Regions from separate parts of the Homo sapiens genome. Here regions 1, 3 and 4 are each linked to region 2. The links are contacts of gene promoters, found by promoter capture Hi-C in blood cells and fetal thymus (Javierre and others, 2016). All regions are on one chromosome and are shown on one strand. Each heading gives the region's core, a stretch centred on a gene start or on the middle of the fragment in contact. The rest is flanking DNA. Distances are from core to core; before and after follow the strand shown. Region 1 overlaps NDEL1 (nudE neurodevelopment protein 1 like 1). Region 2 holds the start of SPDYE4 (speedy/RINGO cell cycle regulator family member E4). Region 3 overlaps MYH10 (myosin heavy chain 10). Region 4 overlaps MYH10 (myosin heavy chain 10).

Region 1 (4,042 bases), core at 717-3,216, 300 kb before region 2:
TGTGATCTCACACATCTCTTACTCTGTCACTGTTGACTTCATGGTCTCTCTGGCCACAAAGGAGATCTGCAGTCTGAATTACTGGAAACAGTTGCAGAACCATGTGGATTTATGCCACTATCAAGTCAGCATTTCTAGCATTAGCTCCCATTACTATTTCCCTTAGTGAGTTTTACCTCTCCTTTCAGTAATCAACCATTGCCATTTCCCACTATCTACTACCCCCTTCACTTATTTTCGTGTGTGACACTTTCTAAAAAATGTAGAAATTGCATTATACTTTATCTAAAGCAGATATGGGAGGCCAAGACACAGGTCCTATGTTTGCCTGTTTCAGCTCATCATAGGGGTTATTTTCTAACCATCAGATTAAACCTGCATTTTTAAGGTTAAAATACAAAGTAAAGTGCACAGGTCGTTCCTACAGTACATAGAGTAATCTTTCTTCACTCCCAAGATAACCATTTTAAAATCCTCTATGTTGGAGTATTTGTCTTTATAACTTGAAATCATGTGCTTATTTTTCTGTTTATCTTGATTTACTCAACTTTAAGCAAAGATATTTTTATTTTTATTTTTTGTTCTTTTAAAAAAATTACTTTAACATTCTTGAACTTTTGTTTCTGAATGTATTAGGTTATATCTTTTTTTTTTTTTTTTTTTTTTTGAGAACGGAGTCTCGCTTTGTTGCCAAGGCTGGAGTGCAGCGGCACGATCTCAGCTCACTGCAACCTCTGCCTCCCAGGTTCAAGCGATTCTCCTGCATCAGCCTCCTGAGTAGCTGGGATTACAGGCACATGCCACCACACCTGGCTAATTTTTGTATTTTTAGTAGAGACGGGGTTTCACCATGTTGGCCATGCTGGTCTTGAACGCCTGACTTCAGGTGATCTGCCTGCCTTGGCCTGCCAAAGTGCTGGGATTACAGGCATGAGCCACCATGTCTGGCCAGTATTAGACTATATCTTAACTCGCTGTTCTCTCCCTTTCTTCCCCACCACACTCCCACTCCGCTTTCCTTTTCTGAGCCCTCTACTAGCTGTGTGAGCTCTCTGTTGGTTGGTTCTAAAAATGGAAAAGTAGTCAAACAGCATTTGTAACAATGCACATATATGTGTTATTTACTGTGTAATCACAGAGGAGATGCTGGACTTTCAGATGGGTCTTTATATTTGTGCCATTCAACAAATGTGTTTTGAGAATTTTGTTCTTTAACTGTAATTTACTCAAAATCATACTGGGTTTTTAAATATTTCGTATTGTAGCTGACTGTACGCTGCTTTCTTTTCCTAGCATTTCTGTTTCCCCTTCTTTCTTTTGAGTAGAAGAAACCTACACCTTTCTTTGCTCTCGGATCTTCTAGCTTCTTCTTCACACTCTTTGTGGGATGCCCTGATGGGCTTCGAGGGCTGCTGCATTGTTGTCGCCCTCGAATTTCTCTCCATTTTACTCTTGGGTTAGTTCTGCCTGTTCCTCACCCCACGTTGTTGTCTGTCTTTGTTCCTTGTTTGTTTTGCTTTAGTACTTTAATTTATTCAGAAGTGGTGCATGAAAGTTTAATTTGGCATCCTTGTATGGTTTACACATTCAGCTGACAATCCGTCTTCTAAGAGTTATCAAAATAACGACCTCCAAAAGTCATCAACACTTTGGGTCTGCTGGTGTCCACCAGCCCTTGTTGGCTTTTATGAATATTTCATTTATGCCTCTTTACACGACTTTGTCCACTGACTTGAACTGGAAGCCCTTCTCCACTCTTGCATGCCTTCACAGAGAAAATCAAGGCCATTTGTTTTAAGCTTCTTTGATTTCTTTTCTCATCTTTTGTTATTACTCTCCTATTATTACCTCTATTTGTAGCCATTCCTCCTTTTTGTCCCAGTGGTAAAAGTGCAAATTCCTGTCCGTGGCTAATTTTGTCCATCTGTGCTTTGGATCTCATTTCTTCCAACCCTTAAATCTTTATTTCTCCTGTATTTCAGCCTTTTACTATATATGCGTTAATATTTATGTATAATGTTTATGTATTACACATTATATGTTATGTGTTATACAGGTATACTTTGATATTTCTGTATTACATGTTATCCATATAAATATATGTAATACTTATGTGGTACATATTACATACTTTAAAGCTTCTTGAAAGCGTGTCCCCATTTATTGTTAGCATTTTGACTGCATGCACACGCCCCAGACACTTTAGCCTGGGCTCTGTCCCCTGCTTATGCCGCTAAAACTGCTCACTGGTGATCTCAGTGCTGTCAAATCCTGTGGATGCCGTTCTGTCCTAATTTTACTTGAAGCATTCAACACTGACCGTTTTTTTTTTTTAATGCCCTCTTTTCTCTCCTTCTCTGATGCTGTTTCATGGCTGCTCCCAACTTTCTTTCCATTCCTCTTAGTCATCTTGTTGGGTCTTCATCTGCTCACCCTTTCGATATTGGTTTTACTCAGAGTTCTGTCCTTGATTTTCTGATCTTAATCACAGCCATAGTTTCATCCACCCCTGGGTGTGGATGTCTTTCAAATCTTAATCTCTAGACCACCCTTTCCCCCCTCAAAAGACCTGGTGCTCGTGCTTGGATGTCTCACTGATGTCTCAGACATAAGTTGTGCCTGCCGTGTGATAGATACTCAATATGGATTTGAATGAATGCGTGTCTTGAATATAGGAATTGAATGGCTCTCAATTTCTACTGTGTGTGTGTGTGTGTGTGTAGCTTTAATAAGCTGCTGAATTATTGCTGAATTATGCTTATTCAGAGTTTGTTTTACAAGGTCATTACCTCTCTTCCTTTTTTCTGTTGTCATTTTAGTAGGTCATTGTACTTTTGTCATAGGAAAGAAGGAGAAGAAAAAAGTTTGTCTGTTTTTGTTGCTGTTTCTTTTTTTTGAGACAGAGTCTCACTCTGTCGCCCAGGCTGTAGTGCAGTGGTGCTATCAAGGCTCACAGCAATCTCTGCTTCCTGGGTTCCAGTGATTCTTGTGCCTTAGCCTCCTGCGTAGCTGGGATTACAGGTGCATGCCACCACACCCAGCTAATTTTTTTATTTTTTCTTTAGTAGAGACAGGGTTTTACCATCTTGGCCAGGCTGGTCTCGAACTCATGGCCTCAAGTGATCCACCTGCCTTGGCCTCCTAAAGTGCTGGGATTACAGGAATGAGCCACTGCACCCAACCATTGTTGCTGTTTCTGAATAGCTGTTATTGAAATGTGGGGGGAGGAGGTCCAAATGGATTCTCAAAGTGAAGTATATGTTACCTGTGGATTTAATTTAGCTGTGCATTCCCAGTCCTTTACTGTCATGGATAATAGACATGAATTGTGTATATATATATTTTGCCATGGATAGTATTTTTCTTTTCGGAGAAGGAGGGGTTTGATTTGGGCAAAGTGTTTATGGGAAAGAGACAGCTGGTGAAGTGTGAGTGTGTGGAAATACATGAGAAACGCCTGATCTCTCCATGTCATCTGCGTTGGTAGAGCCCTGTGCTTGCCAGGTGTTGTGGTGACAGGTGCAAAACAAGGGTGCCCAATTTAGAGGTAAATGCTAAAAGGCCAGTGTCATTTGCGGGTGAATTATTTAATTACAGACAAAGGGTATCAGTTAAACATTTTACAGAGTGCTGTCAGAAATAAAATAGCTTTTAATTTCATGTAAAGTGTTGTAAATGTTCTCATCCATTCTCATGCAGTAGAAAAAATGAAGAACCTAGAGAAAGAATTGGCTGCCGTAAAAAAAATTCTCAAGTGATATTTTTGGGTTTTTTAATAGTGCTTGCTCCCAAAACACACCCTGCCCCCCAACACCAACTAACAGTCTACAGCTTAGAAACGAGCAATGGATAGGGTCAAGAGACCTGGGATCTGCTGTTCCACCTCCTGTACCACACTTTTTTTAGTTGTAAGGGGAAGATTATATGTATTTCCTTCAGTAACGCTAAGAGGAGGAAACAAAATATTCTGAGGTCATTAGAAAGGGAGCATAAGTATTCCCCCTTTTTATTAGAAAGTTGATTGATTATGGCTGAACTAACC
Region 2 (3,756 bases), core at 545-3,044:
TTCCTGAGATAGTCACAGCTGGGTGTGCCCATGGCCTTGTTATCCCCCTCCACGGATGGAGACACTTAGGTTTAGAAAAGTCATCAAGAGACATAGAGTTTCAGAGGGTACAGCTGAAACCAAGCTTTCTTTTATCTTTTATTTTATTTTATTTTATTTATTTTATGACAGGGTCTTTCCTTGTCAACCAGGCTGGAGTGCAGTGGTGCAATCATAGCTCATTGCAACTTCAAACTCCTGAGTTCAAGAGATCCTCCCGCCTCAGCCTCCCAAAGCACCAAGATCTCAGGCATGAGCCACTGCACCTGGCCAGAAACCAAGCTTTCTTATTTCAAGTGCAGACCTTTATTAAGACTAGCCTAATCCTCTATCTCCTAAGCATCCTCCTCCTGCATGGAGCGCTCATCCCCCAGGAGGGCATATTCTTCTTATTGGGAAAGTGTGATTATTGAAAGATTCCACTTTTTTAAAAGAACAGGGTTGGAGGTGCTTTTTGGGGTATCCTCCTACCAAGGAGCCTGTTGAAGGCCTCGTGGTGCTCAGGGAGCACGGAGGATGCTCGCTTTCGCTTCAGCTTCATCTTGAGCCCACACAGCGTCTCCACCACCCAGGTGTCCTCGGGCTCAGGGGCGCGCTCCAACTCCAGCTCCTCCTCCAGCTCCTCCTCGGATTCGTCTGACCATTCGCTCTTCCTTTTCAGGCCAAGGGATTGAGGCTGGGGGCTGGGATCTATCCAAGGGGCTGAGTGAAGAAACCAGGCCATGGTGTCATGTTTCTGCCATTGATCACCTTAGACGCCCCGACCCAGGAACCTCAAACTACTCTTCCATCCTCCCAAGCCTCGCAGACTGTCAGCTTCTCCAAGCCATGTTTCCACCTTTCTCCTTTGCTGATCCCCATCTGCCTCTCCCTCACCTCCCCATTCTTCCGGCTCTCTGTCCTCAAAACATTTCCTCATCACAGATAAGAACTTTCAATTGGAGAAAAATGGAAACCTTCCCTTGAGCTCTGTCTGCTCTCTCTCTCTCTCTCTCTTTTTTTTTTTTTTGAGATGGAGTCTCCCTCTTGTTGCCCAGACCGGAGTGCAGTGGCACAATCTTGGTTCACTGCAACCTCCGCCTCCTGGGTTCAAATGATTCTCCTGCCTCAGCCTCTTGAGTAGCTGGGACTACAGGCACGCACCACCATGCCCAACTCACTTTTGTATTTTTGGTAGAGACAGGGTTTCATCGTGTTAACCAGGATGGTCTCGATCTTCTGACCTCGTGATCCGTCCGCCTCGGCCTTCCTCTCTCATCTTTTGAGCACATCTCCTGACCCCCTTCATTGCTCCCCAGACTTTCTTTACACGTGGCCATGCTTGGCCCCATTCCCTGCACCCTCCTTCCCCGATCCCTGGCTTCCTGAGTCCGTCGTTTCTTTCCCACACACCCTACTCAGGTGCTTCAGATTCCCAGTAACTGGCCCCCTTCCCTCTCCTCAGTCAATCATCTCCCATCGCTTCTCCCTCCAGTCACCTCACCTGATGGTCCTGGCACTTCATCATCCACCACCACCTCGGGGGACCGTACCGTTGTGCTAGGCTGGGGGCTCTCCTCCTCAAACGGGGGGCGCGCTTGACCACTGGCCATAATCTCTCCCAAACACTTTGTTTCTGTCCACAAAACCTAGTCCCTGTTCTGTCCAAAGCCTTCTTCCAGACTCCGTTAGGACCCAGAAGAGTGCGTTTCTCTTCTAGAGGCTCGGGAGAAGTTAGGAGTGAAGAGTAGTTCTGAGAAGTTGCTGTTGTCCACCTGAACTCCCAAGCAACCAGAGTCCGGTCCTTCCAATCAGGAAAGTCGGAATCTCTGATGTCATCGGTCATTCCAAACTGGCAACTACTTTGAAGAAAAACACATGTAACTGCCAGACTGATCTCTTTTCTTGGAGATCCGGGGTGAACGGTATCTCCTGGCAATGTCCCAACCTCTGAGCATTGTCCAAAAGCATCCTCAGGGTCTCCACATTCCTCTTTTCCCTGTCCCAGCAGAGGCTGTGTCCTCTCCACTCTAAACTTGAGGGGGTGTTGGGCTCTCCTCCCCGCTTCTCCTTCCCATTTCAGAGTCTAGTCTGGTGAGAGAGGGAGGAAGGTGGAAGGAAATTTAGGGTAAGCAGAATGATGAGTCCTTCCAAGAGTGAGATTAACATATACAGGAGATCCTGGGTAAATTGACTTGTTGAATGGAGACGTTACGTCGAAGTACTCAATGTGGCAAAGCTTTTTTGCTGAATGTTTACTGATATTCACTATCCTGGATCCTATAGTAGGGGAACATGCATCCTTTGCTCTCAGGCATCTTTGAGTCCAAGAGACATTTTGAGGAATGAAAATCACAGGAGACTGTCCATGGTTTCGTACAGATTTTCAATGGTGTCCACAAGTTCAGGGCATCCATGGATCACCTAAAGCCTGCCCTCCAGTTCAGCTAAGGAACTCTGGTCTATATATCAACTATTACAACATATCTATTTCACTTGACCCCAAAATTTGCCTACTATTTATGTATTTTATGAATAAAATATCCTGTGTATAAAAAGACTAAGGGGAAAATCTCAGCCAGGCCCAGGGGCTCCTGCTCATAATCTCCCTCCTTTGGGAGGCCAAGGCAGGGCGTCACTTGAGGTTAGGAGTTCAAGATTAGTCTGGGCAACATAGCAAAACGTCATCTCTACAAAATATAAACAAAGTAATCAGGAATCGTGGCACACACCTGTGGTCCCAGTACTTGGGAGGCTGAGGCAGGAGGATTGCTTCAGCCCAAGTGTTTGAGGCTGCAGTGAGCTATGATTGCACCACTGCACACCAGCCTGGAGGACAGAGTGAGACTCAGTCTCAAAAATATTTTTTTCGGAAAAAATAAAAATGTAAGAGCTGGATACTATCTCAGATACCATCCAAAGAACCTGTGAGTTCTGGCACAGCTTCCTAATGGGCTCCTAGGAGTCTCTCGCTGATGGGAAAGGCACAACTGAATGAGGAGGCAGATCCCGTCGCTGTGGAAGTCCAATTGTTAGGAAACTCTGCTTACATTGAGTGGACCTTCGCATTCACGATGCTTTCAACCATCAGAACTGGTTGGATCCTTTTACAACAAAACAGAAAATCATCTTTCTCTCCTATTTAATAGGCTTTCAAACATTAGAAGATCAATATTCTGTTGCCATTAAAATTTCTCTTCTGTACCACGTAAAGTTCTGATTAATCACTCTTCAAGCCAGTTTTACATATTCCTCTGTCTTCTAGGCACCTTCTGTAGACAGGCTACAATAAGGCAGCCATCTTAAATTATGTCAATACATTGTCCAAAAATGAGCTAAACAGTTCAGGTTTCATCTGATATGTTCAGGGAAAAGCAAAACTATCACTTCTCCCCTTCTCTTTTCCTTCAGTGATGCAGGTTAATACAACAATGGCTGTAGCTATGCACCAAAGATATCATTAGAGTGAAACAGAAGGGCTTTATTGGCTGGCATGGTGGCTCCTGCCTGTCATCCCTACACTTTGGGAGGCCAAGGCTGGAGAATCACTTGAACCCAGGAGTTGGAGATGAGTCTGAGTAACGTTGTGAGACTCCGTCTCTCCAAAAAAATTTAAAATTAGCCTGGTGTGGTGGCACACACCTGTAGTCCCAGCTAGTTCGGAGGCTGAGTTTGGAGGAGAAGAAGTGCTTTGCAAATACCAGCCTTTCAGCCTAAGGATCTCAACTAGGAACATTA
Region 3 (3,718 bases), core at 1,136-3,635, 260 kb before region 2:
CCAGTGACATTAACAAACACAGATGATTTAAAAACACACACGATAACTTTGTAAAAGCTCTTCACACCAACACTGCTTCAGACTCATCTCTGAAAAACGAATGGCGGCGCCATCCACCCAGGGGCCCAGGCTGGAGCCTCCAGGCATCCCCGAGGCCTCCCCTCCTGCGTCCCCCACCACACCCCGCCTCTCCTCAGTCACGCCTGGAATCCCTTCCTCTCCACCCCCTGCCCCGTCTTAGTTCAGGCCCTCAGCCCTTCGAACTAGGATCACCTCTCCCGTCTTAGGCATCCCTCAGTTATCGTCCTTTGTATTTCCTGCCAGATTGACTTCTAAAATGTAAGCACAAACATGTTTTTCCTGTTACTTTCAGACTGCAAAGTCTTCAGAGGCATTGGTTGTGTGGAGCAGAATTTCTGGGCCATGGCTTCGGCCTCCTCTAGTCTCACTCACCAGGCCGCACCTTGTCATGCATGGGGTGTGCTTTGGTAAAAATGAACTTGTCCCCAACTGCCTAATTATTCCACTTTTGGCCTGTCTGAGATTTTTTTTTTTAATCCCCAGCACCTAGCCTAAAGCCTGGCAAATAAACACTCATAAGTGTTTGTAAATTTAACAAAACTAAGCTGTAAAACTCCAAGAATAAAGTGCTACATTATTTTCAAGTAACCTGTAGCTGACTTAAAAACATCCCTAACGGATGATGCAATACAGGTCTTAACAGTCTGATAAGCCTCAACTCACCCTTTTACAAAATGGACTGTTTCTCACAGGTCAGCACGATGAAATTCCAACCATAAGGAAACAATCTTATTGGAAATGGCCAGCAAGACATTGTGTGCAGCAGGACCATAGCTTGGGTCAACCACAGCCCAGGCAGCGGCCGTGAATGGCAGCTGGAGCTGTCTCCGAGGCCACCCACGTGCCTGCCAGACACACGAACCCCAGGGGCTCTACATCAAGACACTGAGCTTCCAGGGAGAAATCCCGAGTAGCAAGGCTGGCTCCAAATAAAAGTATGACATAAAACTAGTAAGAGGTGACACAGAAGGCAATTCTGGGGCCAGCATATTTCACCAGCTTATATATTACAGAAATGTTAGTTATTATAAAGACCCCTTGCTCCCCAGGGAATACCTGTGTATCCTGTAGTTGAGACTCAAGACTAGCTGCATCCTTAGCAAATTTAATACCCTTCTTCTCTGCTTCTTCCAGAAGGGTGGAGACATTATCTAGCTCATTCTGTAAGGAGCAGAAGATTAAATTCAACTCAATAGTAAGCAAGCAGAAAGGGTCTAGAAACACAGCTTTTAAACAGAACACAGAGAAGAACTCGGCGGGAGTGTGAACCTGAAACTACCCATTCAGTTAAGGAAGACTCACCACCAAGAGTCTGTTGCCTTCAAACGGAGCTCAAATAAGTAGGTACTAGAACCTGCCTCCCTGGCCACCTTAATAGTCTCTACCCATGAAAAGGACAGGGGGCGGGGGGTCTCCTAACTGGTTTCCTACCTTCTTCTATTTTTATCATGAAGATACAAAAATTAAAGCAAAGCCTCTGAAAGAGTGACTGTATCCTCTGTGGGGAGGCTGAAGGCCAGCAGGTGCTTGATTTTGGTCCTTCACACGAATATGCGTTAACCATATGTTTTGGGAGGAAAGTATAATTCACATTCTTATAGAACTTGAAGCTTCTATAAAAGGGGTACAAGAAAGTTTTTTTTTTTTTTGAGATAGTCTCACCCTGTCGCCCTGGCTGGAGTGCAGTGGTGCAATCTGGGCTCACTGCAACCTTTGCCTCCTGGGTTCAAGCGATTCTCCTGCCTCAGCCTCCCGAGTGGCTGGGATTACAGGCGCTTGCTACCGCGCCCGTCTAATTTTTTGTATCTTTAGTAGAGACGGGGTTTCACCATGTTGGCCAGGCTGGTCTCGAACTCCTGACCTCCTGATCTGCCTGCCCCGGCCTCCCAAAGTGCTGGGATGACAGATGTGAGCCACCACACCCGGCTGGAAGTTCTTTTAGGTTTCAAAAAACTGGTATTATATGTTCATCATGAATATTTAAGCTATTTCTTATGGTCAGATTTAATTAATAATATTTTTTTCTTCGCAATTAATGATATTTCTAAAATATTTTCCAAACAAATCTTTGTGGTATAAGATGCTTTATAATTTTTGACGACAGTGGGTGCTGGGAAGACGCAGAGGGACGCAGAGGGGCAGCAGGGCGCCGTGCGTTCTCGCTAGTCCTCGTCACACCGGCCAAGGGAGAGTGGACGGTGGCACAGCCACAGCAGAGCACATGCTGTAACGCTTCCATGGTCACTCTGTTTAGCAACATCCTTCACAGAGCTCACACTTCATCAGTCTTGGGAACAGTGTGGTGGGGAAGGGCTCCAAAGTCAAGAGGGACTCCTGCCTTCAGCACCAGCTCTAGAAGTTGCCAGGTAAGTCACCAGAGCGGGCAAGAGCCTTAGCTTCTTTGAGCCTCAGGTTCCTCACCTACCAGAGGGGTTGACTGAGGTTTAAATGGGGAACAACGTACATGGGAGCCTAGCACATGCCTGGTGCAGCACAGGGGACAAGGAACTGTCACTCCCCTCCCTTCCCCGCCGTAGGCAGAGTTCATAATGCTGTTTCAGAGATTTTCTCTTTTAGGAATAGCTTTCCAGATTGTGTGTGAGAGCACGCACACAATATTTCAGTACCTACACGTTAACACAGCAGGCCGGGACCACCCTCCTTCGAAAGGCCTGCTTGCGATGTTGACCTTTGGCTGGTGTGTGGGAACTTGAATTTAGCAAGAGTTCCCACTATTTCCTGAACAATAAGGGTGGCTTTTCTCTAAACTGTCCATGTAAACAATATGGTCTATGTTGAACACCTACGTTTCTTCTGGGAGTCTGCAATTTGGGTTTATGCTAGGCAAGAGGTGCCTATGTAACCAGCCCCTAATAAAAACCCTGGGGGCCGAGTCTGTAATGGGCTTCTTGGAAGAAAACATTTCACGCATGCTGTCAGGACTCACTGCTGGAGGAATTAAGCACGTGCTGTGTGACTCCGCTGGGAGAGGACTCCTGGAAGCTTGTTCCTGGTTTCCTCAGCACCTCAGCCCTCGTGCCCTTTCCTTTTACTGATTTTGCTTTGTATCTTTTCACTGTAATAAATCTTTGCCATGAGCAGGCCTCTGTGCTGAGTCCTAGAGTCCTGGAGAATCATGTACTGTAGTGTGGTCTTGGGCCTCGGACACAAGACAGCTCTGTAATTCTTTTTCAATGTGGCAATATAGGATGTACATCTTTTCTTACCAATAAGGACTCATCGACTATATTGTTTTTGCTGGTTGCATAGAAGTCCGTATTAAACATTAAAGTTATTTCCAACCACAGTCAGCCCTTCCTATCCATAGGTTCCATCTGTGGATTCAACCAACCATGTATTAAAAATATTCAGAAAAGGGCCGGGCGCGGTGGCTCATGCCTGTAATCCCAGCACTTTGGGAGGCTGAGGCAGGCAGATCACGAGGTCAGGAGATCGAGACCATCCTGGCTAACACAGTGAAACCCCATCTCTACTAGAAATGCAAAAAATTAGCCAGGCATGGTGGCGGGTGCCTGTAGTCCCAGCTACCCAGGAGGCTGAGGCAGGAGAATTGTGTGAACCCGGGAGGCAGAGCTTGCAGTGAGCCGAGATTGCGCCACTGCACTCCAGCCTGGCC
Region 4 (3,797 bases), core at 427-2,926, 280 kb before region 2:
GTACCCCGAGCGTGGCAGTGTGGGGCTCTGCCTGTTACCCTTGTGAGCACGCGTGTACACGGATGTACACGCGTGCCTGGGGGCTGGTCGGAGGCTCTGTAACCGGCCTGCCGCTCTCAGCAAAGCTAGCATCTACAAAGCACACTAGGCCAAAAGAAATGAAAAAGTACTCAAGACTCTGTTTTTACCAGTGAGTTTTCTGCAGAAAAATGACAGCGTTTACTGTCTTCACACACGTGACCTAGGGGACTGAAAGGGAATTGCTATTCTTGCAAAACGTGGAAGAACCAGCAATGTGGGACAATCCCCAGCCCAGAAGATGGTACAATGCATCTTTACACCTCCTTTCAAGGATGGGCATCTCAGATACTAGACTTGGATTCAAGCAGAAAGCCACCCTGGGATGACATGCCACAGAACTAAGAGCCTCCCTTTTGGACCCTTCATTCCTGAGCCACACAGGCACTGGTCAGTGCTTCGTGGGTCCAGCGCACACCACCCTCAACTGTGCTCCGTGTTGCTAGGCCCCAAGGGTGGGGGTGGGAAGGGAAGGCCAGGTTGCCTGACTGAATGAATGAAGTTGGGGAGGGTTCGGGCCAAAGGCAGTGAAATCCTCAGATCCATCCACCTTTCTGGCCAGTGTCTGCAGTGTGAAGTCTCACCAGGCAGAGGGCAGGGAGCGGGAGGGAGGGTATAGCTGCCCACGCTGCAATCAGGGCAGGCCTGACCCACAGTTCAAAGTCCTGCGGAACATTCCCTGTGTACTTAGAAAAGGGGGCCTGGATGCAGACGCTGAAGCTCACTCGGGTGCAGCGTGCAGTACCTTTGTCTTCCCTTCACTTTCTATTCAGTATCTCCTGTGCCCACCCTACACCCAGCCAGTATCTCATGACTGCCAGCAATATCCAGAAACTATACTAGGCATTAGGGAGATAACAGGGAGCAAAACAGGCAGAAATCCCTGTACTCACGAAGCACACATTCTAGTGGAGGAAGCAGGAGCTTTACAGTTCAGTCCAGGCCTCACTGAACTTGCTTCCTGACCTGCTCTCCCCGCCCTCCTGTGTCTCGGGTACTGGGAGTGCCCACCAGGAACATGGAACAGCCCACGTTAGCTGAAACATCAGAATCGGGAGGGCCCTGAATTCCACTGGTCAGTTGTGCCACCAGCTCATTCTCCACCAGTTCCTTTGCTCACGCGCTTCCCAGGGAGGCACTTCCTCGCGTACCTGCTCTTTATACTGGTCCGCGTGTCGACGCTCATCCTCAACCTGCATGAAGATTTCTTTCAGCTTCTTCTCAGTGCGACGGACTAATTTGTTGGCGGCTGCTCGTTCCCTGTGAAAGTGGTCACAGTAGTTTTGAAATTCTTGAAATGGTATTTTGTGTGGGAAAAAATATTTTTTAAAGCCCCTTTTCTTTGGGAAGATGACACATGGTGGAGGCATTATGGACCTCTCTGTCCAGAATTCATGACTAATGTGCTGAAACCTTTCCTTCTGGTCAAAATCAGAATTGCCTTTAATGTATTCCTCAATAGTGACAGGTAGAATAAGTGCATTATTCCTGCACGTGTAGGTGTTAATTACTGTACACAGGTATTCATCATTGTACTCAGTTATCTTACTTTGTTTGTTTTTGAGATGCAGTCTTGCTCTGTCGCCCAGGCTGGGGTGCAGTGGCGCCATCTCTGCTCGCTGCAACCTCCGCCTCCTGGGTTCAAGCAATTCTCCTGCCTCAGCCTCCTGAGTAGCTGGGATTACAAGGCATGCACCACCACGCTGGGCTAATTTGTGTATTTTTAGCAGAGACGGGGTTTTACTACGTTGGCCAGGCTGGTCTCGAACTCCTCACCTCAGGTGATCTGCCCGCCCTGGCCTCCCAAAGTGCTGGGATTACAGCCGTGAGCCAGCGCACCCGGCCTGTACACAGTGATCTAAAGAGCAAATGTTACATACAATCTACCTGTCAGTTATACTGAACATAGACTTTTGAAGACACCATCCTTAGTTTAATCACCTAAACTTTTAGCCTGAGAAACAACCCAATTTATTAAGTGATTGTTTCACTTGATAATTTACTAATTACCTATTGTGATGTAGAGGGCTTTGGCAGCTCACATTGAAAAAAAACCCAAAAACAAACCCCCTACACTCCCTCTTTGGTTAGAGGTGAAACAAATCCATGTTTCCAGATGCATCTACGTCGTCCCATATGAAGGAGAGGTAACTTATTTGGAGGACTCCATGGAAGACAGAAAAAGTTATTTTGTTGCTTAACAAATATTATGCAAAAGTAGATAGAGACAGTCAGCTGAAAGGGTGTTTATGTTAATTCCAACTAGAAACAAACCCTTAATTGTTTGCTTCAGCCCACTGGAGTCCAAAGAATGGAGTGGGAAGTCCTGGCACGAGAGGCTGGGGAGGATGCAGGGTTCTGGCCGCGAGCCCTGCATTTCTGGGCTCCAAGCTCCCCAGCAAGAGGGTGAATCTGAAGGTCTGCCCTGGCTCTGGGCGCTATGACCTAATAGCTTTGTAATATGCCTGCCAGCAGCTGTACTGTACAATTTCTCATCAATTTCAGAATGCTTTAATACAACAATATGAAAGCTGTTAAGCAATCCCTTCTATGGGGAGAAGAAAGGCTCTGATTTGTGTCATACTGCATTTGTTCTCTGGCAGCAAATTAGCATTTCATGGGCTGCCACACGCTTGGGAAATCGACTTTGGGTAGGAGATGCAAACTCAGGGTGCCTAGGAAATCACGGGGCGCCGTCCTAAAGCCCAGCCTTCCCTGACTGTTCACGGATGCCGTCTGTCCTCCCAGGCTCTGAATGCTCACAGCTCTTCTCTCACAGCTCACACCAACTTCTGTGTCCCACTCTGGTTATATGTGTTCTCTGCCCACGTGGTGGGGAGCCCCCCCGAAAGGGGCATGCCTGTTTTGTCTCTGACTGAGCCTAGTTGGTAAGTTTTGGTTTACGGTAGCAAAAACCTCTTACTTGGCTTCCTGCTCAAGCTGCTCCTCCAGCTGCCCAATCTTGGCCTCCAGGGCTGAGATGGTGGCCTTGAACTTAGACTTGACAGCACCCTCGAGTTCCTGCAGCTTGGCCTTCAGCTCCTTGTTCTGCCGCTCCAGTTGCTGGCGTGCATTGTCACTCTTCTGGGCGGCGCTGCGCTCGGCTGCTAGCTCGGCGTTCAGTGTGTCCACCTAGAGAGGAGAGAGGAGTTTAGTCACTTGTGCCTGAGGGGTGGCACAGCCCTCCCTGGGTGACGGGCTCCTGCATGGGCCACCTGTAGAGTGGTCTTGCGGAAGCGGTCGTTGAGCAGCTCCATGTTGCTCTGCTCCTCTTCCAGCTCCTCCTCCAGCTGTGCGATCCGAGCTTCCAGACGCCGCTTCTCATCCAGCAGCGCGGACCTGGCGGGGAGAGGAGGAGGGGACGGTTCAATCCCAGCTCAGCACAGCACAGGAGCCTCAGGGAAGGCTCCTCCACCCACCCTGTTGCTGGAAACCTGAGCAGCCATCCTGAATTTTCTCTTTCCCCTGCACTCATCCCCAAATCCATCAGTAGGTCCCACTGATGACACTTCCAAACACCCTCCCCCGCTGCCACCACCCAGATGCAGGCCTGTCATCTCTCACCTGGACTGCTGGGTGGCCTCCCGCTGCCCTGCCTGCCTCTCTCCAGCTGTTCTCCACAGACAACAGCCAGAGTCGCTTTCAAAACGCAAGCACGACCCCAGCCTCCCCACCGCTGAAACTCTTCAGTGGTTTCCAATGCACTGAGAATCAAATTC

What was found. Contacts are between HindIII fragments. The CHiCAGO score rates a contact against its expected background, and 5 or more counts as called.
Region 1: a fragment that was not itself captured here is called in contact with the fragment with the promoter of SPDYE4 in region 2 in 4 of 17 cell types (total CD8 T cells, megakaryocytes, monocytes and 1 more); the score reaches 9.5 in total CD8 T cells.
Region 3: a contact is called between a fragment that was not itself captured here and the fragment with the promoter of SPDYE4 in region 2, in 1 of 17 cell types (megakaryocytes). The highest score is 5.9, in megakaryocytes.
Region 4: a contact is called between a fragment that was not itself captured here and the fragment with the promoter of SPDYE4 in region 2, in 10 of 17 cell types (megakaryocytes, total CD8 T cells, naive CD4 T cells and 7 more). The highest score is 10.9, in megakaryocytes.

What each region holds. Positions count from the first base shown.
Region 1 is chr17:8,455,849-8,459,890 of GRCh38, forward strand. All of the region lies in intron 7 of NDEL1 (nudE neurodevelopment protein 1 like 1), which reads left to right. Among named protein-coding and RNA genes, the nearest start is that of NDEL1, 22 kb to the left of the region's middle. The HindIII fragment of the contact is 339 bases long and covers 1,798-2,136 here.
Region 2 is chr17:8,756,752-8,760,507 of GRCh38, forward strand. SPDYE4 (speedy/RINGO cell cycle regulator family member E4) reads right to left here and starts at 1,795. Exons shown (of 7, transcript NM_001394956.1): 1 at 1,523-1,795; 2 at 511-741. The coding sequence starts at 1,631. The HindIII fragment of the contact is 1,936 bases long and covers 320-2,255 here.
Region 3 is chr17:8,494,000-8,497,717 of GRCh38, forward strand. MYH10 (myosin heavy chain 10) reads right to left here. Exons shown (of 43, transcript NM_001256012.3): 31 at 1,138-1,242. Among named protein-coding and RNA genes, the nearest start is that of NDEL1, 60 kb to the left of the region's middle. The HindIII fragment of the contact is 1,393 bases long and covers 1,690-3,082 here.
Region 4 is chr17:8,477,109-8,480,905 of GRCh38, forward strand. It overlaps MYH10 (myosin heavy chain 10), which reads right to left. Exons shown (of 43, transcript NM_001256012.3): 39 at 3,294-3,417; 40 at 3,002-3,210; 41 at 1,230-1,338. Among named protein-coding and RNA genes, the nearest start is that of NDEL1, 43 kb to the left of the region's middle. The HindIII fragment of the contact is 8,636 bases long and covers 1-3,797 here.